7 separate regions of the Homo sapiens genome follow, and all the other regions are linked to region 2. The links are contacts of gene promoters, found by promoter capture Hi-C in blood cells and fetal thymus (Javierre and others, 2016). All regions are on one chromosome and are shown on one strand. The core of a region is centred on a gene start or on the middle of the fragment in contact, and the rest is flanking DNA. Distances in the headings are between cores, read along the strand shown. Region 1 overlaps CDC37L1 (cell division cycle 37 like 1, HSP90 cochaperone). Region 2 holds the start of PUM3 (pumilio RNA binding family member 3). Region 3 has its middle 8.0 kb from the start of AK3. Region 4 overlaps SPATA6L (spermatogenesis associated 6 like). Region 5 holds the start of SPATA6L (spermatogenesis associated 6 like). Region 6 holds the start of RCL1 (RNA terminal phosphate cyclase like 1). Region 7 has its middle 50 kb from the start of GLIS3.

Region 1 (3,618 bases), core at 623-3,122, 1.8 Mb after region 2:
TCAAAACCAGTTTGGTTGACATGATGAAACCCTGTCTCTATAAAAAATACGAAAATTAGCTGAGTATGATGGCATGTGCCTGTATTGCCTTAGTCCCAGCTACTTCGGAGGCTGAGGCTTGAGGATTACTTGAACCCAGGAGGTAGAGGTTGCAGTGAACCGAGATCGTGCCACTACACTCCAGCCTGGGCAACAGTGAAACACATCTCAAACTTCTTAATTGTCCTCTTGGCATCTGCTTTCACCCACTCTCATGAACTTTTTTAATTGCCTTTCCCTGGACCAGCTCTAGTTCTGCTACAGCAGTCAGTAACACACACAGATAAGTGTACATCGCCACTAGCCCTATCAGTACTTTAACAGTGAGTCATATCTTTCTCGACTTTCTCTGTGCCTGTACTAATTTATATATACTTTTTCTCCCCCTCCACAATGGGATCATTCTTTATCTGAGTCATTTGCTATATCTGTATATATTGTTTTAAGGGGTGCATCTTGTGTTATTTTCTGTTCTGCATTTATATCCCAAAACTATTGAAAATAATTTTTTTTCTTCCAGAAGGAATGTTCAAAGTAATATTTCTTGTTTTGTAAAGTTAATGTCTCTTCTTTAACACAGTGGTCACAAAGAAAATATTTTCATTTTGTCTCTGCTTTTAATTATTTCTTTAAACTTAGGTTCTAAGGTTCTAAGACAGCCTACATTTATCTCACAAATTAATTAGGACTATCTTTATGTTCCAGTCATTTGCTCAAAATCCTACACTGGTTTTGTCTGGGAGCTTGAGACTTGAGAGGACTGGTCTAGATCTGCACTATCCAACTTGATAGCCACTAGCCACATGTGCTATTGAGTGCTTGAAATGTGGCTAGTCCGAATTGAGATGTGCTGTAAGTGTAAAATACACACCAGATTCCAATGATGTAGTGCCAAAAAAAGTAAAATATTAATAATTGTTTTGTATTGCTTACATGTTGAAATGATAATAGGCTGGATATGTTAAGATAAATAAAATAATTTATTAATGTCATCTGTTTCTTTTTGCTTTTTAACGTGGCTAATAGAAAACTTTAAATTACATTTGTGACTTGGATTGTATTTCTATTGGACAGTGCTGGTCTAGATGTCAGACTGCATGAAGAAAAAATCTTTTATTTTGAAATATGTAAACTTTTGAGTGCTTCCTGATTATAAACTGGCAGTGATCTAGTTTGCAATTTTTATTTTTGGCAGTGATGATAACGGGGTATAAATATGATCACAGAATGTTCTAAGAAACTTCTGCCAGTTTTTCTAGCTAGATACAAACTTTATTCTTGGTATATTTTATGACTTATTTAACTGAAAATAAGTACTTCCTTAATAGAAATTTGTACTTGACTTTAAAAATCAAACTGTTTGGTCTCTTCTAAGAAGTTTATTAGAAATGCAACAAAGGGCCAGGCACAGTGGCTCATGCCTATAATCCCAGCACGTTGGAAGGCCAAGGTGAAGGGATTGCTTGAACCCACGAGTTCAAGACCAGCCTGGGCAACATAGCAAGACCACGTCTCTACAAAAAATTTAAAAATTAGCTGGGTATGGTGGCTCACACCTGTAGTCCCAGCTACTCTGGAGGCTAAGGTGGGAGGATCACTTGACCCCAAGAGGTTGAGGCTGCAGTGAGCTATGATTGTGCCACTGTACTCCAGCCTGGGTGACAGAGCAAGACCCCATCTCAAAAAAAAAAAAAAAAAAAAAAAGACACGCAACAACAACAGTCTATTTCTTGTTTATGTCTTAATAAAGAATTTACGGTAAATATCATTTATTCTCTATGTGCTTTGAATTTCTGAGTTTATTTCCAGCAAGAACTCGAAAGATTAGGCAAGAGTTGCAAATATTTATAGGAATTAAATAATGCACAAGTAAACTATGCATATAAAATATAAAGGATGTTTCTATACCTGCTTTTAATTGGGAAATTCAGCTTACCAAAAAGGTTAATTCAGTTGTTTTTCTGTATGATTTCTAAGATGAACCTATATCCACACATATATCGTATGTATTTTTTTGTGAGATGGAGTCTTGTTCTGTCGCCTGGGCTGGAGTGCAGTGGCATGATCTCAGCTCACTACAACCTCTGCCTCCTGGGTTCACGCAAGATTCTCCTGCCTCAGCCTCCCGAGTAGCCGGGATTACAGGCATCCACCACCATGCCCAGCTATTTTTTGTATTTTTAGTAGAGACGGGGTTTCACTATGTTGGCCAGGCTGGTCTTGAACTCCTGACCTCGTGATCCACCCGCCTCGGCCTCCCAAAGTGCTGGGATTACAGGCGTGAGCCACCACACCCGGCCTCATACATCATTTTAAACAAAATTAATAAGACTCCCATACAAGAAAATTTTAATTTTTAAAAATAGTTTACCAGATGAATTTAATCATGTAATATCAGTATGATACTATACCACATATATTGTCTATAGGAAGAATTGCTAGATATTCAGTATCTGAGAAAGAAGATTCAATTAGAATTTAAAATCTGATTTAAATTTCTAAAATTTTTTCTTAGAGTTTTATTAATCAAGATAAAAGAAAAGACACAGAAGATGAAGATAAATCAGAATCATTTATGCAAAAATATGAGCAAAAAATCAGACATTTTGGTAAGTCTACTACTTGGATTTCCTTCTTTGTAATGTTTGGTATCATATGTACATGTGCAAAAAATGGATTTATAAAAAGAGAGCCAAAAAGAAAAGTGGCAAACTCCAATTTTGTAGCTTCTGGCACAGCTGTATAGATCTTGTTTTAGAATTTTTTTTTTTTTTGGTTATAAATAAAATTAATTGACAGAGCAAACCAAATGGTAAAGAGAAGCAAAAGTATTATTATATAGTGTACTACCTTTAAGACAACTTTATGTATTCCATAGCCTCTTTCCATTTCCTAAGTAGTCTTTGCTTTTTTCTTTTTCCTCTTTGCTTCCTTGGAATCTGATTATCTTATGTTTTAAAGATTATTCATTTTTTTTCAGGTTTTGGATATGATGCTTTATAATTCAGGCAGATCCTTGAACTGTTACTCAGATAAATATAGTAATAGAAATGTATATATAAAGAACTGAAAAATAGGTTTTTTCTATTGGGGAAAAAGGGTAAGAGGGGGGTTGATACAAGTGAAGGCTTCCCAGAGGAGCCAGCATCTGAGCTTGATTTCAAGGAACAGATAGGAGTTTTTCATGTATAAGGGAGGCAAGCCAACAGCAACAGCATGAGACGGGCAGTTAGGAAACAGCATGGTGTGTTCTGAGAATTATAGGCAGCATGATACCGCTGGCATGAAAATGCTGCTGGGAAGTGTTAGGAGTTAAGGTTTAAAACTTTTTTTTTTTTTAATTCCAAGTAGTATGTTAATTTAGTAAACATGGTTTTTATTTGTAATATGTTCATGAACTTTTTACATGGCATTTTGAAATCTTTTTCCTGTTGGTGTTTATTTACCCAACGTTTTTTGAATTTCGTTTATGCTTCAGTTATGTCAATATAATAAATATTACTTTAAATTTTTTCCCTTCCTTTTATGTAATTTATTCGTAAAATATTCACTTTGCTCATACTTTTCATTTTAAAGAAA
Region 2 (3,747 bases), core at 1,226-3,725:
GAATATATGGACATCCTACCTCCTCTTAAGTTTTACTTGCTAACTTTAGCATTCAAGTCAGTGTATTCTGCCTGCAGCAATTACTGCTGCAGGCCAAAAAAAAAAAAAAAAGGTTCTTAGATCAGCCCTTCGGCCCCTCACCCTCTTTAGTGAAGTTACATGTTTATAATATAGTTTAACTGATTTGTCACAGCCTGCATTCCATCCCCAGAAATGCTGGCAGATTTATTAAATGTGCATATAGTCAAGTTTACTCTTTCTGGTGTATAATTCCACGGGCTTCAACAAATGGCTAAGACTCATGCATCCACTACCACAGTATCTTACAGAAAAGTCCTGTCACTCTAAAAAGTCCCCTGGTACAGCTCCTTTGTATTCAACTCCTTCCCTCTTTCCTGACTGCCAATGATTAGGTTTTCACTCCTGTTTTGTCTTTTCCAGAATGGCATTCTTATACATGGAATCATACAATATGTAACTTTTTGAGTCTTGCTTTTTGCACTGGGCAAAATGCAATTTGCTTTGCTTGGGAACCCTGTACCTTCGTAATGAATCATCACATTCAATAGTGTCTCTTGGAATTCGCCCCCCTTTTTCCTTTCCCTCTATTACCCCATTCAGGCTCCTGTTACCTCTTGCTCAGTTTTGTTTAGATCCTATCTGCTTTGATCCACTTTCCGCTGCCTGATTAACCTTCCAGTAGCACACCTATTTCATGTCATTTCCATGCTCCAATAGCTTCAAAGCTTTCCCACTGCCTTCAGGAAAAAGTTCCAACTCAGGCATTCACAGCCATTCAAAATGTGGTCTTAATTCACCCCACTCATCACCACCACACAGGAGCCACTATTCTTATCAGAATAGTGAAGTTTAAAGCCATTCTCTCTACCAACACAATTTCTACCCATCCTTCAAATTCAGTTTAAATGACATTTTCTTATAGACCAACCTCTACATGTTAGCATTCCTCAAATCTTTGCCCTAGGGAACTTCCCTTCTCTCTCCACACTTCTCCCTAGGTGGTCTCATCCAATCTCCTGGCTTTTTATGCTGAGTACTCCCAAATCATGTCTCCATTATGAACTTCTCCTTGGGGTCCAAACTTGTGTATAACTGCTTATCTGATACCTCTAATTATGTGTCTAACAGGAACCTTACCCTTAATATGTCCAAAACATAATTCTCTATGTTGTTCTTTATGTTATTGTTGTTTGCCCCACAAACAACAATATACTATTTTTCCCTGCCCTATCGTCCTCCATCTCAGCCAATGGCACATCATCTACTTTACTGCTCAAGTAAGAAATCTGAGTTACCCTTGACATTTTCCTCTCTACTCTGCCACGCTGAACCATAAGTTAGTTCTCTTAAATGTCCCTTACGTCACCACCCTAATGCAAACTATTACCAATACAATCTCTTGAGCTTCCAAATGTAATACATTTTCTAAAGAGAACCAGGGCCTATTCATGATTCTCACTTGCTTACAAGTCTTCAATGTTTTCTACACATGGTAATAGGAACGGAAATGTTTTCCTATTGTACAGAAAAAAAAATTCCCCATCATGACCTTCAAGGCCCTACAGAACCTAGTTCCACTCTATCCGGCTAACTTTATCTTGTACTCTAACTATACTCCTTCCTAGCTCCCATCTCAGGAACTTAGCCCATTATCGCCTCTGCTTGAAGTACTCCCTGAGCTTCCAAATCTCCGTTTAAAGATCACTTCTTCAGACTCCACTATCTGCCAACTCAGCATCCAGTTCGTTTCCTCCCAGCACTTAGAATCTGCGTACATTCAGGCAAACCGCCTAGCACTGGAGTTGGGGTTTGTGAAGTAGCACAGACAGGCTGATCAGGCCGAGCACGGGCTGGGATTCCGGAGTGAAGCTAGTCCACTCTAACCCGGCACGCAGGGCAACGTGGTGGGAGAGAGGTCGGAGTCCCGCCCTTCTTTTTTTTTTTTTTTTTTTTTTTGAGACGGAGTCTTGCTCTGTCTCCCAGGCTGGAGTGTAGTGGCACGATCTTGGCTCACTGCAAGCTCCGCCTCCCGGGTTCACGCCATTCTCCTGCCTCAGCCTCCCAAGTAGCTGGGACCACAGGCGCCCGCCACCATGCCCGGCTAATTTTTTGTAGTTTTAGTAGAGACGGGGTTTCACCGTGTTAGCCAGGATGGTCTCGATCTCCTGACCTTGTGATCCGCCCGCCTCGGCCTCCCAAAGTGCTGGGATTACAGGCGTGAGCCACCGCGCCCGGCCAGTCCCGCCCTTCTTGCCAGGCTCCAGTCAGTCCCAAACTCCTAGCCCAGAAAGAGGCCAGAGGAGACTGCCCAGTGGACAACAGCCCCGAGAGACCTTCCCGACTTCCAGCGCCCGGCAGGGTGCGAACCCCTCCCAAGAGCGACCGCTGAGCCTGCCACACTCACCGCACACGTGGGACCGAGACAGCTCGCGCAGCGGATCCCGACCGCCTCTCCGCTTCCGCTTCCTTGCCTTGCTCCGCCCCCGGGCCGCTTTTTTTCATCTTCCGCGGCGGATCAGGGACTAAGAGGTGGAGCTTCCCAGAGAATACAAAAATTCGGAATTTCTATTGGTCCGCTGCTGTTATGCCTCCTCTTGAGGCGCGAGGATTTTGGCCCTTGCAAGAATCCGTCGGGCGGAGGACGCGACAACGGCCACGGGAAATGACGTCATTAACCCTGTGGCTTCCGTGCTGGAAAGAGAGGGAGAGCTCTTGCGAGGCAGAACAGGCTGCTGAAGGACAGACCTGGCTGGCGCGGTTAATAAGAGGCCTGCATCCCGTAGCCTGAACAAATATTGAAGTAGCTAAAGTTTCTAAAGTGTGTTAATTTGCATACTTCCTCAGCAGTCCAGCGTGGAGGATAAAAGGGGTATCTTGTGAGTCGATTTGAATTGTAATCCCGTTTTTTTCACTTGCTAGCTGTGTGGCTCTGGGAAAATTACAGTTTTTATGAGCTTTGGCTTCCTGATCAATAAAATAGAAATAATTAAGTGATACGTGCAAAGCGCTTAGCATGGAACGCTCTCAATAAATGTTTGCCATTTTTAGTGTCTGCTCGTGCCTGGAAACTGCTGTTATTCCATTTTATACTTCAGGAAATAAGATTGTGGTTAGGATATATGCCCCATTTTCCAGATGAAGAAACTGACACCACAAACTTGCTCGTGTCAAGCAACAGAATTTTATTCTTTAACTGTTCTAGAGGCAAGAATTCCAAAATCAAGCTGTTGGCAGAGCCCTGCACCTTTTGAAGGCTCTAGGGGAGAATGCTTTGCTTCTTCAGCTTCTAACGGTTCCAGGCGGTCCGTGGCCTCTTGTTGCATGACTCCAATCTCGGCCTGTCTTCTAATGGCCTTCTCCTGTGCCTGTGCCACTTCTCTGTGTGTTTTTAGGACACTGAACATTGAATTTAGAGTCCACGGGGATAATCCAAGATCATCTCATCTGGAGGTCCTTAATCACATCTGCAAAGGCCCTTTTCCCAAATAAGGTCACTTTCACATGTCCTGGGAGTTAGGACATAGACATATCTTTTGGAGACTATTCAACCCACTGCATCTGTAAAGTTGAGGAACTGGCACTTGATCCCTGGTGCCAGACTTCAGATTTTACTGTCTTCCAACTTACTCCGTTTTCTGGCCACTAAGGAGTTAGAGTTGAAACTGGTAATTTAGTAGACTGTATGCTTCTTGATGACAGGGGCCATCATTACTTTCCAGGCACTTA
Region 3 (3,355 bases), core at 134-2,633, 1.9 Mb after region 2:
AACGGTGTGAGACCCTGTCTTTAAAAAAAAAAAAAGTATTCTGTAAGAGGGTAGTTGAAGTTCAGACTTTGTAAATACCTTATCTTTCATCAAACTTTTAATTTACTCACTATCTTACATTTATTTATATGGTTTCTTATTTTATTAAATTGGTTGTAAGCCATTGTCATTATTATTTATTTTGATGTTCAAATCATTTAAGATTTGGCTAATGGAATCTCCTTCGTGTTAGCTAGCATCTGTGTCCTTTTGGCATGTCCCCATTACTCTTTGTGCACTTCTTTACTTTCTGGCATAAGAAGGTCCAGGTTCATCTTGGACTTCCTAGACCCAGCAACACATTGAAATGGCTGAGATCAACCATTTCTCCAAGAATCCCTGGTTTCCTTTAGTGGAATATGGAATTTAGAAACTGAGGCCCGTGCATTCAGTGTGCTCATTACTATTAATGTGTTGCTGCTTTAAGGCCCTCTCAGAGGACAGGGCTAAGGAATATGTAAATATGTTTGTATTCATTTACACACACGTTTACATCTACATTTATTTCTATGTTTATCTATGTATTACTGAAGCCATGAGTTTACATTGATACCTTCATTTCTGATCTAATATTCTAGGATTTATTTTCATTTTTTCCCTTCCATCCTTCACTACAATCCTAGTCTTGTCTTCTCCTCATATATTGAAGCCACCAATTTTTATTTTATTTTATTTTATTTTTTAGAGACAGAGTCTTACTCTGTCACCCAGGCTGGAGAGCAGTGGCATGATCATACCTCACTGCAGCCTCAACCTCCTGGGCTCAATTGATCCTACTGCTTCAGCCTCCCAAGTAGCTGGAACTACAGGCACATGCCATCACTCCCCACTAATTTTTATTTATTTATTTATTTTTAATTTTTTTTAGTAGAGACAAGATCTTGCTATGTTGGCCAGGTTGGTCTCAAATACCTGGGCTCCAGGGATCCTCCCACCTCAGCCTCTAAAATATTGGGATTACAGGTGTGAACCACTACATTCAGTCTTCTTTTATTCTTATCTACCTAACACAGAGTAACACATTGCTTCTGGATTTTGAGTTAGTGTCTCTAACAGACTCTCATGTCCTTCATGTATCCACATTTATGATCAGTCACTCTGTGTATACCCAACCTTCTATCACCACTGCCTACCCTTTCTCCATGCAGATGTCCTCCTCACCCCACTTGGGTTACAGAATTCCATGCCGACAATTCATCAGCCCGATATATGGACGCTGTTATCTGGCTGGGGCTCTGACACTCTATGCTGGACCAGACCACGCCCTCCAAAGACATCCTTCTCACCACTTCTGGGCTCTGACATCACAGGCCAGGCTGCTTATGACTATGAGCATTCTACTCACTCTGTGCAGACTCCAAAACCCTGAGCCACACTGTACTGCCGTCTACATGGAGAAATCTTCCTCACTCCACTCAGACTCTGGCACTTGTGCTGGGCAGCTCTCCTCTGCAGATGCCCTCTTCTTGCATATAGTTTAAATGTAGACCCAACGTGAGTCCCTGGTGGATTCGATGGATTAAAGTGAGGGAAAAAAAGAGATTTCTCCTGAGCTACTGGGAGAATAGAATTGTCATTAGCTGAGATTGGGAAGACTATAAGAGAAACAGGTTGGGTGAAAATATTAGAGTTGTTTTGGAATAAGTTAACTTCGAGATACCTGTTGGACATCCAGGCAGAGAAAATAAGGAAGGAGGCAGATGTATAAATTTTGACCACAGGGTAGAGGTCCAGGCTGGAGACATAAATTTGAGAGTTGTCAATATGTTTAAATTTTTGAGATGGTACAAGCTCACTAGGGAGCAACTTTAGATAGAGAGGAGAGGTCTGAAATCTGAGTTCTGAGGTTGTCTAACATTTTGAGGTTGGAAGATATGGAAGAAACATTGAAAAAACCTGAAAGAGAGGGAGAGGCCAATTAAGAAGAAAATTGGGTGAGTATGGTGTCGTGGAAGTCAATTGAAGAATGTGTTTCAAGAAGAATATGATGAAATGAGTCAAATTCTGCTGATAGGTAGGACTGAGAACTGATTGAAAATTATTTCTAGGCTGGGCACAGTGGCTCACGCCTGTAACCCCAGTACTTTGGGAGGCCGAAGTGGGCAGATCAGAAGGTCAGGAGTTTGAGACCAGCCTGGCCAGCATGGTGAAACCCTGTCTCCACTAAAAATACAAAAAATTAGCCAGGCATGGTGGCGCCTGCCTGTAGTCCCAGCTACTCAGGAGGCTGGGGCAGGAGAATCGCTTGAACCTGGCAGGTGGAGGTTGCAGTGAGCTGAGATCGTGCCACTCTACTCCAACCTGGGTGACAGAATGAGACTGTCTCAAAAAAAAAAAAAAAAAAAGGAAAAAGAGAAAAAAGAAAATTACTTCTAGTTGTCAAAAAAAACCCCTTATGAAATAAATTACATTTCATTTACAATTTATAGATTTAAAAAATGAGGATAATTTTGCCCCAAATTCCATAACTATTCAGCAGCTAAATTAGTGATTTCAAATTGTACTGGATGCATATAGGAAATGCTTTCTCTGAGGAGAAACTTCTGGGAGTAGAATTCAAATTATCCAGACAAGGATATTAGAGAAAAAAGAAAGATAAGGTCTAGACAAAAGTCAAGGAACAGAACAGAGAAGGTGGAACTCAGATACTACAATGTCATATTGTTTAACACTTTGCAAAAGAAACAGAAGAGGGCGCCTTAGAGCTAAGACAATTTTATTAGGACGTTCACTTGGAAAGATAAATAAGAATATCTGAGAAAGCCCTAAGAAAGACGGACAATGAGGAAGCCTGTACCATAAGAAAATAATATTGACACATATTTTAGTTTATTCTATGTCCTCCTCACCCCACTTGGGTTACAGAATTCCATACCGACCACTCATCAGCCTGATATATGGACACTCTTATCTGGCTGGGGCTCTGATACTCTATGCTGGACCAGACCACCCCCTCCACAGACATCCTTCTCACCACTTCTGGGCTCTGACATCACAGGCCAGGCTGCTTATCGCTATGAGCATTCTACTCACTCTGTGCAGACTCCAAAACCCTGAGCCACACTGTACTGCCGTCTACATGGAGACATCTTCCTCACTCCACTCAGACTGGCACTTGTGCCGGGCAGCTGTCCTCTGCGGATGCCCTCTTCTTGCATATATTTTAAATGTAGACCCAACATGAGTCCCTGGTGGATTCTGTGCTGCTATAACAAAATATTGAGACTGGATAACTTATAATGAAAAAGAAACATATTGGCTCACAGTTCTGGTGGCTGAGAAGTCCAAGATCAGGTGCTAGCATCTGGTGGGAGAG
Region 4 (3,349 bases), core at 530-3,029, 1.8 Mb after region 2:
TCATTTTTTAAAAATCTCTTTTATAATTCATGGCCTACAGGCTTCAGCTAACTTTGGGTCAGTCAGGTGACCACAGAGAACTGGCCTCATTGTACAGCAGCTTTTGTTTGGAGGGCCTAGGTTCCACAAAGGAGATTTTCTTAGGAGCCTCTGCAAACCAAGACCCCATGAAACATGCCCATAAAATATGCTCCAGGCTTTGACAGATCTGCAACCATAAAAATCAAGAAAGGAATTATAAACTGAAGCAAGACAGATGGGAATTCTTTTTATGATGTTTAATGACACAGATCTTCCCAAAGTAATCCAAACCCCAAAACATCACAAAATTATTCATACTATTATACACTCCAAAAGCAAAATACTTCAACTGCAATCCTTGCCCCAGCATGATTCCTCAAAATTGAGATAACTCCTTGAGAAACAAAAGTAAAAATAATAATAATTTAAGGAATAGAGTTAATAGATGCAAAAGTAAAGGGAAAAAAAGCGTAATTTAGTGTGAAAACCAAAAATGACTTTAAATAAGAATGGGCATTTAAGATCTTATTAAAGAGTTATGCTTAAACCATTTCAAAAAACACTGAATATTGAATGTCATGGTGTATATTTTAACAATAACTGAAATGGGATACCAATTCATTAGTGCTGCTTTCCTTTAGCTGCTTACGTAAGCAGCCCTCTCCTGAGACTTATAGCGTAACCTTAATGTAACACAATATTTTCTTACTTTTGATGACTACTTAGAGGTAACATCAAAACAACAAATTGACAACCATAGTTTCAGAGAGACTGAGAACATATTAGCATATGTAATTTAAGCTTGCTGTTGGCCTTGCCAAGGTGGAATGCTGGTTGTGATACAGGTTGAGTCTCCCTTATCTTCAGTGCTTGGGACTGACCAGAAGTATTTTAAACTTGGGTTTTGGTTTTTGTTTTTGTATTTTGGAATATTTACATAAACACAATGAAGTATCTTCAGGATAGGGGATAGGACCCAAGTCTAAACACGAAATTCATTTACGTTTTATATACACTTTATACAGGTAGCCTGAAGGTAATTTTATACATGATTTTAAATAATTTGGAGCATGAAACAAAGTTTCGAATGCATTTGACTGCACCCTGCCACATGCAGTCAGATGTGGAATTTTTCACTTATGGTGTTATATTGGTGCTCAAAAAGTTTTGGATTTTGGAGCATTTCAGATTTCAGATTTTTAGATTGGGAGGTTCAACTTGGATATACCTTTATTTGGCTGAAATTCTAAGAAGAGGATAAATGAATTTTGTTTTGTTGTTTTTGTTTTTGGAGTTCCTTTTCTGTTTTAATTTTTAATTTCATTTTCTTAATTTACCTAATGAACCAATCCCTATGATTACAGTGAGAAAAGAAAACTTGGCTCTCACTGAATCTTCTAAAAACTGAACAAGTTTTAGGGTAGTGTCTTACTCTATTCAGGCTGCTATAACAAAATGTCATAAACTGGGTAGCTTACAAACTACAGGAATTCATTTCTCACAGTTCTGGAAGCTGGGAAGTCCAAGATCAGAATGTTGGCAGATGCAGAATCTGGTGAGGGCCCTCTTCCTGGGTCAGAGATGGCGCCTTCTCGCTGTCTCCTCGCCAGTGGAAGGGGCAAACGAGCTCCCTTGAGCCTATTTATAGGGCACTAATCTCATTTATGAGGGGTCCACCCTCACAACCTCATCACCTCCCAAAAGGCCCCATTTCCTTAGAGGTTAGGATTTCAACATACAAATGTTGAGGGGACACAAACATTCACACTATAGTAGGGCTGGTAGAGGAAAATGCTATGCTTACACTATGAAGGAGGGAAATAAGTTTCCATTTTCAGGCCCCTCTTCTCTGGGTCTGTATCAATGAAGACAAATGTGCCTCTAGTCTCCCTTTATCCCAGCCCCTTCCTATTCCTGCTCCCTCACACTGTGTAAGCATTTCATAGATGCACCTTCCTAACTAACTTTAAAACCTGGCATTGGCAGTCCTATCTGTAGAACCTATTTACTTAATGTGTAGTTCTTTTGGAGAAATATTTGAGGAAGGTTTTGTTCCTCATCTAAATTTACAAAGAATTGCTGGAACGAAGGAGTAGGAAACAGAAGGAGCAGTTTAAACTACGCTCCAGAGGAGCCAGCCTCCTCTTACAAATTTATCACAGACATTCAACATCTAAAACAAGATCTGAACTACCCAGACGTAATGCTCTCTTTTCCAAGGTTTTTAGTGGACTTCACGTAAATCAAGCCTAACACTAAGAAATAAACAAACAACAACAAAAACGGATCTACCGAAAAGAGAAAGTCAGGTTGATAGTCTTTCCTGGAGGATTTATCAGGTTATTCCTGTGAATAGCAACTTCCTCTAGCTCATATATAATTAATTTGAGAGAGAGAGACAGAGAGAGCCAGAGAGAGCCAGAGAGAGAGAGAGGGGAAGTGTTCAGATAAGCACCTGCCACCCAACTACAGCGCTTTCTCTTTCATGTTCAAAACAAACATGCAAAAACACAAATTTTCCAGCTTGACAAGAAAATGTTAGCCCCCAAACAGCAAACACTTTAATCAACAACTCTTACCTGGGCACAAAAGACTGAGTACAGGGTTTGGTTTAAAGGGGATTAGACATCAGTGACTCAACACAGACAACAAAAAGTGTTCATTTCTTTAAGGATGCTTCAATTGTCTCAGTGAGTGAGCTCTTCATGATTCTCCTTAAGCTTTCATTAATTTCCCCTGCAAAATTTGAAACATCACATTCTACATGTGGTATTGAGAAAAAGGCAAACAATCAATACAAGTAAGGAGAAAAAGATAATGTCATACTACCCCAATCTTGGCATGTAGCTATGCCTTGGGATCACTTAGTCTCTGAGCTTTTTCCCCAGATTCCCACAACAGAATAACCCAGTGAGCATCTGTGTGACCTTGGACAATTTACTTGACGTCTTTGTAAAATATCAGGATGATGACAGAGTATCTACCTCTTACTATTATAGTGAAGAGTTAGCATTGCTACATAGTAAATGTGCCAAAATAGGTGTTATTCAGTTGAGCTGTTAAACGTGTTCCAATTAACTATATTCTACTGAACAAATTTCCTTCCTTCCTTCCCTTCCCTCCTTCCTCCCTTCCTTCCTTCCCTCCCTCACTCCCTTCTTTCTTCCTTTCTTTCCTTTCTTTTTGATGGAGTCTTGCTCTGTAATTTGGCACTGCACACTGGGGGCCGGGATTTCACGGCAATTATGCCTTCCAAGAGAACTAGGGATAATCTGAGGGGTTTCTTTACGGGAGGTTTTTTTTTTTGTTTGGTTTTTTGGATGTTTGG
Region 5 (3,400 bases), core at 901-3,400, 1.8 Mb after region 2:
GTACAGCATCGTGGACTATTGCTGGCTCTCACCCCATAATGCTCCGGTCCTCTTTTTACTGTGGAGTCAACGATGACACCATCTCATTGATTATGGCACCAGGAAGTCTGAAGGTTTCCACATTCGATGATGTCAACCTAAACCAGCAGCCATCCCGCTTGTCCCTCTTAGGCATTTCAGGCTTCCTTTGGGATTTCAGGTGTCCCATGATCTTGATGTGCTGCTAGGCTGGAGCACACACTGGCCATTACTGAACACAGCCATATTAGGGAAAGCAAAAAAACCCAAAAAATCCTCTATTGTATATTTATTCAACAACTGTTTATGTTTCCAGGACAACTGCAAAGAAAACAAGCTGAGGTGGTTATACTGTTGCTGTTAAAAGTTGGTATCAGTAAGATTTGTGTTTTGTGATAATCCCTAAATCAACATACCACTTGTAAACTGAACTTCGAGAAAGAAACATGATGTTCATTCTGTAAATATACATGCAGACAGGTCATGTACTAATCCTAGTCCTTTTCCTGAGGTAGATTTTAAACAGTATTTTTAAAGTCCAAGACATAGGTTTTTCTAGTTTATTCCCTGAAGATCTGTTGCCACAGTTGGGAGATTTCTTCTTAATCCTGATTTTCTTGGTAAGCTTTTTTACTTTATTATCTCTATAATTTATTATCTCTATCCATATTTGTGGATCGGGTAGTGGGAAAAGAGATTATAATACTTGTCTTTCTCTCCTCTCCCTCCATCCCTCAAAAGATCTTTATGCATTTCCCACTACTCCCTTACTGTCTTTTAGCATTCAGAGAAAAAGCCAACTTGCTTAAAGAGGAATCACTTAAAAGGTAGGCATATCTAAGATGCTCATAGAAGAGGAAGAATGGGACATGGCCCCATGCTTATTTTTGTTTACAACGTAACATGGCATGAGAGAGGGCAGAGAAACTAAGTTGCTGGGGAAAGTTAGAGGAACTGAAAGTTTGGGAATAGGCTGACCACATATTATGCCAGTGACCAGTATGACAGGAGATGGGGCCCTGCTGCCAGTCATCTCCACTGAATAAAGAATAATGCTCCTCTTTCAGGGTAATAAAGTGGGGAAAAGGAACGTCTTCTCAATGCAAGAACATAAGCTTTCTCGTATATACCTGTATGCTACAGTTTTTCACATGGAATTCCGTTTTCTGAGGTACAGCACATTTTAGGTAACAGTATTTAACTTGAAATTCATCATGGGAGTCTGCTGCTATACCAGGCACAAGATAAAACTCCAAAATTTCTGTTTACATTGACCTTTACATTTAAAGCTGTTCATCCATGGTGCCTCCCCAAATCATAAGACCAAAGACCACCAAACGCAGGGTGGACTCTGCTCATTATTCTTTGACCCAGAAAGACTGGAGAAGGTATGTGCTTTAAGTGCTGCTCTACCTGAAAAGAAATCCTTTAAATTACCTATGGAAGTGATGTCCTCAGATAATCTTAATGACTATTTTGGCATTTATAAATAGAAATGATTATGGACTTTGATCTGCCATACGGAGGTTCGGAACCTGGAGAACGGCTGTGATAAGTAGGTTTTGATTGAGTGAAAGCATGAGCTTGTTCAGAGTGAGGGGCATAGTGAAAAAGGAACAGCCATGCCTCAAAATCAAATCATTTGCATTCCCACAGCATCCTGAATACCGACTACCTCTTCACTTGCTAAAGCAGCTAAACTGTGAAGCTCTAAGTGGTTTGGGTTTGTTGTTTAACCTTAGCGAGATCCTTTAACTGCAGCAATATTCAAGCCAGATATTTGGAAGCAAATGATATTTCCTCTTGCAGTGTCCACAAATCTGAATATTAGGGGCATGAAATTAGGCTTACCATCTGATTTGTAATTACAATTTTGGAATTCTCTGTTTTAGTTGCTGAGGCCTGAGTTTTCTGGCTCTTAAAGCATAGATCATTTCACCTGATGTTTTTGAAGCATCCTAAGTACAGTAGAGTAGAAAACTGATTTCTTTGTTAATTGTACACTGAATAATGCCTTTTAAAAATCAAAATAAAATTAACAAATAATGGTGAATGAAGTGAGATGAAAACTTGCTTAATTTTTGCCTTGATGAGGAGGGAGACAGATTTATCACTTAGCTTCTCAAGAGTTCCTTCTTCCTGCACAATTTTTAGAGCTTAAAACTGGTATAGCACTACTAATAAGGTCTAGCCCTATTTGCTGTCAGCAAAGTGGGACAAATCCAGGAAATGTTGATCACCTTTCACACCCACATGTATGATGAAACCACACCATTTGCCAATTGTATGGAAGACAACCAGATTCCATGACAATTTCCTGTTAGCACTGTGCTTGTAATCATAGCCAGTAGAAAAGCCCCTAGAGGAAAAGCGGCATGATATTCTGTTACTAACTACATGGAAGGATTGGAAAATGGAAACTGAAATAAGAGGGAGTGACAGACCCCCAAGTAGAAACCATGGAGTCACTCTGCCACAGCACTTCACTTAGGAAGGATTTGGTAATTACGAAATAGTGATTGATTGATTTCCCTTTTGGAATTAGCAAGCCAGAGCTATCACTAAGGGGAAATATCATAGAAAATATCTGATTGGTTCATAGAGTTGGCAAATAATCAGGAAGTGATGGAGCTTTTTAAAATTATTCCCTGGTTATTTAAAGAAGTTGAAAATCCTTTCACAAATCTTTATCCAGGAGAAGAAAATAAATTCTACCTGGACTTAATGCAGGGTTGTTTGAAAAGAAATTAAAAATTCATGATAAAGATAAGAAACATGTTAGCTTTAGAACAGAAAAAAAAAAAAGTGGGAACAGGTGGAGCTGAATTAAAGGTTAGGAAGTCAGGGAAAACCAATATGGAGAAAAAGACAAAGGTGCGATCTGTCCCAGAAGATAATGATGTGTTTGTGGTAAGTGGGGGATGTGGGGGAGGGTTGTTGAAAACCACCTGAGACTATTTAGAGTCCGACTTGAGGTTAAGGAGGGGGAGTTCATCGATCTCTTACCGCCCGGATCTGCAGCTCCACCACCACCTCCAGAGGCATCGTTCCCTGCGTGGGCGAAAGGACTGGAATGAGAAGATCCTTTTGTGCCGAGCCTTGGACCAATTTTTCTTAGTTTAGCTGAATACCTAGAGCAAATGTTCCCAGAAGCTTCCCCAGTCCCACGCCCTTGTTCCCCTACCGTCCCCCCCAGCCCAGGTCCCTCCCACCGGGACGGGTCTCTCACACTCGAAGCTGGAGTGCAGGCTTCCAGAAGGCGGAAGCGTGGCGTTGCCAGGGACACTCAAACGCGCAGTCTTCATCGTGGAACGCGCGCGAGGCCCCAGCGCAGACGCGCGCCCTCACGGTCGCTGTTGCCCACGCAGTGCCCCCAGCCGGA
Region 6 (3,665 bases), core at 648-3,147, 1.9 Mb after region 2:
ATAACTAAAACAGTATAATTGTTTTGTTTGTATAATAACACAAAGAATAAAATGCATGAGGGGATGAGTACCCTATCCTTCAGGATGTGATTATCACACATTGCATGCCTGTATCAAAACTTCTCCCGTACCTCATATATACATGTACCATCTACCTACAAAAATTAAAAATTAAAAAAATTATATGGAACCACAAAAGACCCAGAATAGCCAAACCTGTCCTAAGCAAAAAGAACAAAACTGGAGGAATCACATTACCTGACTTCAAATTATACTACAGAGCTAGAGTAAACAAAATGGCATGGTACTGGCATAAAAACAGACACATAGATCAGTAGAACAGAGCGGAGAACGCAGAGATAAATCCACACAGCTACGGTAAACTCATTTTCGACAAAGTTGCCAAGAACATACTCTGGGGAAAGGACAGTCTCTTCAATAAATGATGCTGAGAAAATTGGATATCCATATGCAAAAGAGTGAAACTAGATCTCTATCTCTTGCCATTTACAAAAATCAAAGAAAAATGGATTAAAGGCTGGGAGTGGTGGCTCACACTTGTGAGGCCAAGGTGGGCCAATCGCTTGAGGTTAGAAGTTTGAGACCAGCCTGGGTAACATGGCAAAAACCCATGTCTATACAAAATACAAAAATTAGCTGAGCATGGTGGTGCACACCTGTAGTTCCAGCTAATGGGGAGGCTGAGGTTGGAGGATTACTAGAACTCGGGAAGTTGAGGCTGCAGTGAGTCATGAGCATGCCACTCCACTCCACTTTATAACACACTGTTGTCTACATAAGGCTAGCTACATCCCTTAATCTTAAACTCCCACCGCTTTCAGACACTATCATACCCCGCCCCCCTTCCCCCCGCGAACCCCCGTGCATTCTGGGACTCATGGTTTGGTGAGTGTTGTCCAGGAATGGCTACAAACCCACATTACTATGATATCGGACTTCTACTTGTGTAGTCATTTGTTAGTTAACTGTACATTTTGGAAGGTTTTTGAGTAGAGAAGTGAAATAATCCAACGTTTGGGAAGATTTTCTTGTGCAGGATTGGAGGAGGACGGGAAAGAGGGAAAAAGCATTGCGCGCGTGTGTGTGTGTGAAGTTATTACAACTATCTATCTTGAAGCATGCGAGGTAGGAGGGCCTGAATTGCCATGAAACGCAATGACGATAAACGAAGGGACCCGTGAGAAAGGGGCAAAGAGGTGTCTCAATAAAATAAGCAACGGCCTGCTGTGGGAGGATTCGGGTCTCAGTATAGGCTGCCACTGTCAGCTTTGCAATATTCCTCGAGCCTTTATCCATGAGTAGGACAGGATGGCTCTACCTTGCAGGGTTACAGCATGGAGCTGCGGGACTGCGCCGGCAGTGCGCTGAGCGGCATCCCTGCGATAGGGTGAGTGCACCAACCCTTGTTGTCTCTCTTAGTAAGAAAGAGGAGGGGTAGATAATAGCATCTTCACCCCAGTAGTTGCCGTAAGTAGTAATGCTAAGAATCCGGCACGTCGTAGGCATCAATCTCAGTCCGCCATCTCCCCTTGCTACCACGCCAGGAGGTACACAGAGGAGACTGCCCCGACTGGCAACTCCCGCGCCGGGGTTCCCTGGCCATCCTCCCGCGTTCCCTCCAGCCGCGCGCTGTTGCCAGGGCCCGGGCACCGCCCAGCTCCACTACGGACCAATGGCAGCGCGGCTTGGGCACCGCCCAGCTTCAGCGGAAGCCAATGGAGGCGCGGCGCGGGCACCGCCCTGATCCGGCGCGGGCCAATAGCGGCGTGGCCCGAAGCGGGGGCCGCCCCGGTCGGGCGGGGAGGCGGGGAGGTGGCCACTGGCTCCGCCCCGCTCCCCTCTGACCCGGTGTCTAGTCTCTCCGTCTTCCTGTTCCAAACCACGTGGACGCGTCTGGGCTGCTGGAGGCAGCCCGAGCCGCCGCCGTCGGTGTCGCCGCCACCACCACCATCGGAGTCACGAGTCCCGCGTCTGTCCGAAGTCGCCGCTCTCGGGCTGCTCACGTCTCTTCGGAGAGCGCGCACATGGCGACTCAGGCGCACTCCCTCAGCTACGCAGGGTGCAACTTCTTGCGCCAACGTCTGGTCCTGTCTACCCTGAGCGGGCGCCCCGTCAAAATCCGAAAGATTCGGGCCAGAGACGACAACCCGGGCCTCCGAGGTAACTTGGTGTGGGCGGCGCGCGGCGTGGGCGCGGGGGCTGAGGGGAGACCGAGCTGATGCCGTGGGGGCCCGCGCGGTGTTGGTTGGGCGGCTCGGCGTCCGGCGAGCGCGTCGGGGAGGGCAGGTGGCGCGTCGCCTCCAAAGCCGGAGGGGCAGGCACAGTGGGGGAGGCGGGGTCGGGGCCCGAGGGGAGCGCTCAGCTGCAAGCTGCGCTCGGCGTCTCCGGGGCGCTGGTAGTAAACAGCTGCACGTTTTCCAGCTTTACGTGTAGCAACAAATCCCTGGCGTCGCCCCTTCGCGTCCCTTCGGCCCCTCTTGCCCTCGCCATAAACCTCTCAAAGGAGAAAAACAGTTTGTTGGACCGAAATATGGTGAATGAGCCGGGGGAGAGACATTGGGAGAGAAAAGTACCTTGGGTTGGTTCTCTGCCCTGTCTCAAAGCAGTTCTCAGAAGCAGCTGCCCCCTTGGACACCGGCTGTTCCTGTCGCCATGATTTCTCGGCTGCCCTCACACTTGTCCTTGGGTGTGGATAAAGAAATTTTTAAAATTCTGTGTTTGTTTTCAGCCGTGACTGTGATTGATGTGCGCAGGACAGGAGCTTTGAGATAGACTTTTAACAGTCATGGGCCTAATTGCCTTGACTTTAGAAAAGGGGTCGGTGACAATCGCTAAACTGCAGGCTTCCAAGCTCACTTCTTGCTCTGCAATGGTAGGTTAAAAAGAAATAGGCCCATTTAAACCCACATCTCATTAAATGGCGCCGGTTTTCAACTGGCCTTGGTTTACACCTGGCCCCCTGGCATGAGATACATGCATTTAAAAGCTTCTGACTGGTGGTTATCCCAAGTTGGGCGAGTCAGTAGTCAGGTGAAAAAGGAAAAAACCTGTCTGTAAATTGAAAAAGAGTGTTTGTGGTTGGTCCTGGAAGCTTCCTGAGCGGCGCTGATGTGTTTCATTTTGCACTGGCTCTTGTTTTATCTGTCTGAATGCATTTTTTGGATAGTTAGATCTCTGCCTCTCTTGGGTGGTGATTGGCTGCACATAAAGGGCAGAAGATGCCATGCTATTGACGGAGATAGGTTAGGAAGGAAAGAAGCAGAATATCCCAGGTACAGTGGTGAGAAACCTAGTGATGGTAGGAAAAACTTGTGTTGGTGGTTCCTGTCCTCTCTCTACTGCTCAAAAACACTGAGAAAGTTAGGGAGAGACCACAAATGGTTTATGCCACGACTTTTCCGTCAACAAGTGTTCCACTTAGTTTGACCCTTGGGCAAAGTGTTTGCTTGATTGCTGTGTGGCATTCTCAGCCAGCTCTCCATCCACTTTACCCTCAGGTTAGCTCAGAGAACTTGCCACTAGCTGGATATGGTAAGAAGATGGACTTCTACTTTGTATAAAAGTAGGCATAACTTTTTTTTTTTTTTCCAGAGAAATGGAAGTATAGCCTGGAAACCTGGGTTCTCTAAAATGAATCTAGTTCT
Region 7 (3,248 bases), core at 424-2,923, 1.5 Mb after region 2:
CCATCACCTCCACATCCCATGCAGTGGGAAGCTGATAGGAGGCAAAAGCAAAAGAATGCTGCTCTCAAATGAGTCAGCCCCCTTTAAGAAGTTTTTCTTCAAATTGATAATAACTATTCTACTTATATCTCATTGGCCAGAACTCGGTCAATGGCCACACCTACTCCAAGGAGGCTGGGAGATGTGACCTTTAATTGGACATAATATAGTCCCATTTAAATATGGGTTATCTTATTATGAAAGAAGGTGGGAACGAAATTTGAGGACTCAACTACCTGACTTTCTCCCAGTGACTCACAATATGGTATTGTTAAACAAATATGGTAAATATGCGGTCATTAAAAGTTATGTTTTAGAGGAATCTTATTCAAAAAGGAAAATGCTCCTAAGTGAAAAAAAAACAGATTAAAAAGATATAAGCTCAATATGATTCCAACTTTTATTCAACATAAATGTGCATAGAAAATACGGAAATTATAAAATCAAAATTATGTCTATTGGCTTTGTAGAGTAAAATTATGGATGGTGCTTTCTTCTTCTTTATAGTTTTTCATTTTTTCCATAGGAAACATATATTACATTTGTACTCAGCAAACATCCAGTAAACATTATTTCTAATTAGAAAAGAAGCTGAAGGAGGAAAACATTCATGAAACTCAATAATAATAAAATAATAGGAGAATGCAACATAAAAATAGGAGAATGCAACACTACTCCTTATCTAAGCTTACTAAACATCAGTTGATCCCTCAACTTTCAACTTAAAATAAGCCTTTGCCATGAGGGCTTCACTGAACACCCCAGTTGATAGCAATCTCTCCTTTCCACAACAGTTTATGATAGGTGTTGTCAGTGGCACTGGTATGCACACTTGCAGAACTGCAGACTAATGTTATTTAAATATTTTATGCAACCATATTTCTCCAAGTAGATTATATGACCCATAAAAGCCAGGCATTTGACTCTTCTAAATGCTTTATAATAGTAAATGTTCCTATATTTACTTAATAATTAACTGGAATTATTTTATTTGTATCCTGGCATGCACATTGCATACAATACCCTCTCGTAGAGTCTAATTGGTGTTGAGGATTTATATTGATGAGTAGAAAAAGAGAATGGAAATGGTCATTGCACAGAAAAAAATCCCTGTATGCTAGATGACCAAAAAGGAAAAAAATACCTAACAAAACTTTGTTAATTTAGATTGCATTTACTTAGGGAAGGAACTGAAGTACTTACCTTGCAAATTACTAGCAAAAATAAGATTCCAGGACTTCCAGACAAGAGGACACACAGAGCATCACTCTAAGCACACAGAAATGATGAATAAAAGACAGAAAAAAAAATACTTTAAGCAGGGCTTGACAGCAAAAAGGAAAAATATCCGGGTACCAGAAATGAAGAAGAAACCTAAATTCATGGTGGCAAGAAGAAATGAAGTCATGAAGCCTTCAGGGTGTCCTGAATTGGTCATTAGCCTTCAGTTTATCTGGAAGCCAGTTGAACTAGAAATCGATGAATCTTCTGTGGGGCCTGTCCTGGCAAGAGTGAGATAATCTGCTGCAGAGGCTGTGGGTGGGCAGCCCAGGCCAGCTGGCTTCAGGAATGTGAAAGAGACTTAGACGGACCAAGAGCAGTGGGGCAAAACTGACTTTGACCAAACTGAGAGAGTCAGATTGCAAGTTACACCAGCTCAGAGACAGCTGATAGCAGCATAGTGAGAAGGGATCAGGCATAGGAGTTCCATCACCGCAGAGGTCAGAGAAGACCGAGAGCTATCACAAGGCCCAGTGGCGATGGGAGACTCCCTTCCTCCACCACCGCATGGCCATGTTTGCTATACCCGCAAGGCACCTATTCACCAGCACCTTGGAGAGCAAAGAGGGAATAGGCGGAAATGTGAGGAACTGGGCACGTTTAAATCAAAAGACTGAAAATTAACTTAAAGAGACTATTTCAGTTATTGCACTGGGCCACATTTACTGGATTTGACTTAAAATTTATATTTTTTCCTCCCATCTCTATATGGATAGAAACAATTGACACAAATGGAATCAAGTAATAGAAAATTTCTTTAAACTGCATTTTCACTATTCACCTGTGCACAGTGTAAATTTATAATCCTGCCGTACTATATCTCTCTGAAATTTTTAAAAATATTTTTATTTTAAAGTCTCTTTCAGAACTGCTTTATTATCTCTATTTTGGGGTGGGGATAAGGAAGACTGAACTCTTCTTCCAGAATCCAAAATGTTAAATTGGACAAAAAGACCCCACCTTTGGTATTTCTCTCAAATCAAGTAATATCCTCCTTCATTCTGGACCAAGGAAGAGTTGGGATTGATGTGTCTCTGCTGCCTCTATGTCTCTTCTACCCAAAATGCCTTGGGGTAAAAAACATCAGGGTTTGTTTTGTTTTGTTTTGTTTTTGTTTTTGTTTGTTTTTGTTTTCTTCCAGTTTCTGTCTCCTCAGGACTTTCCCTAGTACCACTAGTACCAGAACCAGCTACGTAATTTTGGGGCCCAGTTCAAAATGAACAAGGGCTCTTTGATCAATAAACCATTTGTGGCTCTTCTAAGCCTGGGGCCCTGTGTGTCTGTGTAGGTCACACCGCCATGAAGCTTGTCCTATCTATATACAAGGCCTTGAAGTGCTGGGCCCTGGGCTTCACTTCTCTGTATAATAATCCATTTCTTTCTGATTCTGGCCTGTTTCTTAGACCTTAAGGCTGGTTGGGATAGCCTCTCTACACTTACAGGGAGCTGGAGAATTGCTTGAACACAGGAGGTGGAGGTTGCAGTGAGCCAAGATCAGGCCACTGCACTCCAGCCTGGGAGACAGAGTGAGACTCTGTCTCAAAAGAAACAAACAAACAAACAATTAACTGGGTGTGGTTATAGTCCCAATAAGCTGGGAGGCTGAGGAAGGAGGATCACTTGAACCTGGGAGGTTGAAGCTTCAGTGAACTGTAATCGCACCACTGCACTCAAGCATGGGCAACAGAGTGTCTCAAAAAAAAAAAAAAAAAAGGGAGGGTGAGGAGAAATCTTTTACATATCTCATAAAATATTTAGTGCTTGAGTTCATTACAAAAGTTTAGAATATACACTGAAAAACACAAAAATATCTTTCTCTAAGAGTTCTTTATTACTCAATTTATCACAGTAGTTGAAAAGGAATTTTCCATTTAATTGTTCAGATTTAGTGAAATTTTCATGGGCAAAAAGAGAAAAAAGTATGTAGT

What was found. The method cuts DNA at HindIII sites, captures the fragments that hold promoters and counts their contacts. A CHiCAGO score of 5 or more calls a contact.
Region 1: a contact is called between a fragment that was not itself captured here and the fragment with the promoter of PUM3 in region 2, in 1 of 17 cell types (activated CD4 T cells). The highest score is 5.9, in activated CD4 T cells.
Region 3: a contact is called between a fragment that was not itself captured here and the fragment with the promoter of PUM3 in region 2, in 1 of 17 cell types (fetal thymus). The highest score is 5.5, in fetal thymus.
Region 4: a fragment that was not itself captured here is called in contact with the fragment with the promoter of PUM3 in region 2 in 2 of 17 cell types (non-activated CD4 T cells and total CD4 T cells); the score reaches 7.3 in non-activated CD4 T cells.
Region 5: a fragment that was not itself captured here is called in contact with the fragment with the promoter of PUM3 in region 2 in 3 of 17 cell types (fetal thymus, non-activated CD4 T cells and total B cells); the score reaches 8.2 in fetal thymus.
Region 6: a contact is called between the fragment with the promoter of RCL1 here and the fragment with the promoter of PUM3 in region 2, in 1 of 17 cell types (fetal thymus). The highest score is 6.6, in fetal thymus.
Region 7: a fragment that was not itself captured here is called in contact with the fragment with the promoter of PUM3 in region 2 in 2 of 17 cell types (M2 macrophages and total B cells); the score reaches 6.9 in M2 macrophages.

Annotation. Positions count from the first base shown.
Region 1 is chr9:4,685,959-4,689,576 of GRCh38, forward strand. It overlaps CDC37L1 (cell division cycle 37 like 1, HSP90 cochaperone), which reads left to right. Exons shown (of 7, transcript NM_017913.4): 3 at 2,555-2,648. Among named protein-coding and RNA genes, the nearest start is that of CDC37L1, 8.2 kb to the left of the region's middle. The HindIII fragment of the contact is 6,570 bases long and covers 1-3,618 here.
Region 2 is chr9:2,841,620-2,845,366 of GRCh38, forward strand. PUM3 (pumilio RNA binding family member 3) reads right to left here and starts at 2,476. Exons shown (of 18, transcript NM_014878.5): 1 at 2,426-2,476. RefSeq lists enhancers at 1,505-2,066, 2,450-2,744, 2,568-2,807. The HindIII fragment of the contact is 3,665 bases long and covers 745-3,747 here.
Region 3 is chr9:4,747,492-4,750,846 of GRCh38, forward strand. No RefSeq gene overlaps it. Among named protein-coding and RNA genes, the nearest start is that of AK3, 8.0 kb to the left of the region's middle. The HindIII fragment of the contact is 4,823 bases long and covers 1-3,355 here.
Region 4 is chr9:4,598,053-4,601,401 of GRCh38, forward strand. SPATA6L (spermatogenesis associated 6 like) reads right to left here. Exons shown (of 12, transcript NM_001353486.2): 12 at 264-2,757. Among named protein-coding and RNA genes, the nearest start is that of PLPP6, 63 kb to the right of the region's middle. The HindIII fragment of the contact is 1,919 bases long and covers 821-2,739 here.
Region 5 is chr9:4,663,188-4,666,587 of GRCh38, forward strand. SPATA6L (spermatogenesis associated 6 like) reads right to left here and starts at 3,293. Exons shown (of 12, transcript NM_001353486.2): 1 at 3,025-3,293. The coding sequence starts at 3,063. It overlaps PLPP6 (phospholipid phosphatase 6), which reads left to right. Exons shown (of 1, transcript NM_203453.5): 1 at 1-2,071. The coding sequence ends at 76. RefSeq lists silencers at 3,082-3,131, 3,142-3,221. The HindIII fragment of the contact is 2,038 bases long and covers 1,132-3,169 here.
Region 6 is chr9:4,791,047-4,794,711 of GRCh38, forward strand. It overlaps RCL1 (RNA terminal phosphate cyclase like 1), which reads left to right and starts at 1,898. Exons shown (of 9, transcript NM_005772.5): 1 at 1,898-2,181. The coding sequence starts at 2,046. RefSeq lists enhancers at 1,155-1,204, 2,025-2,074, 2,149-2,648 and a silencer at 1,585-1,944. The HindIII fragment of the contact is 3,785 bases long and covers 1-3,005 here.
Region 7 is chr9:4,348,382-4,351,629 of GRCh38, forward strand. It overlaps a transcript of GLIS3 not described here. Among named protein-coding and RNA genes, the nearest start is that of GLIS3, 50 kb to the left of the region's middle. The HindIII fragment of the contact is 1,899 bases long and covers 725-2,623 here.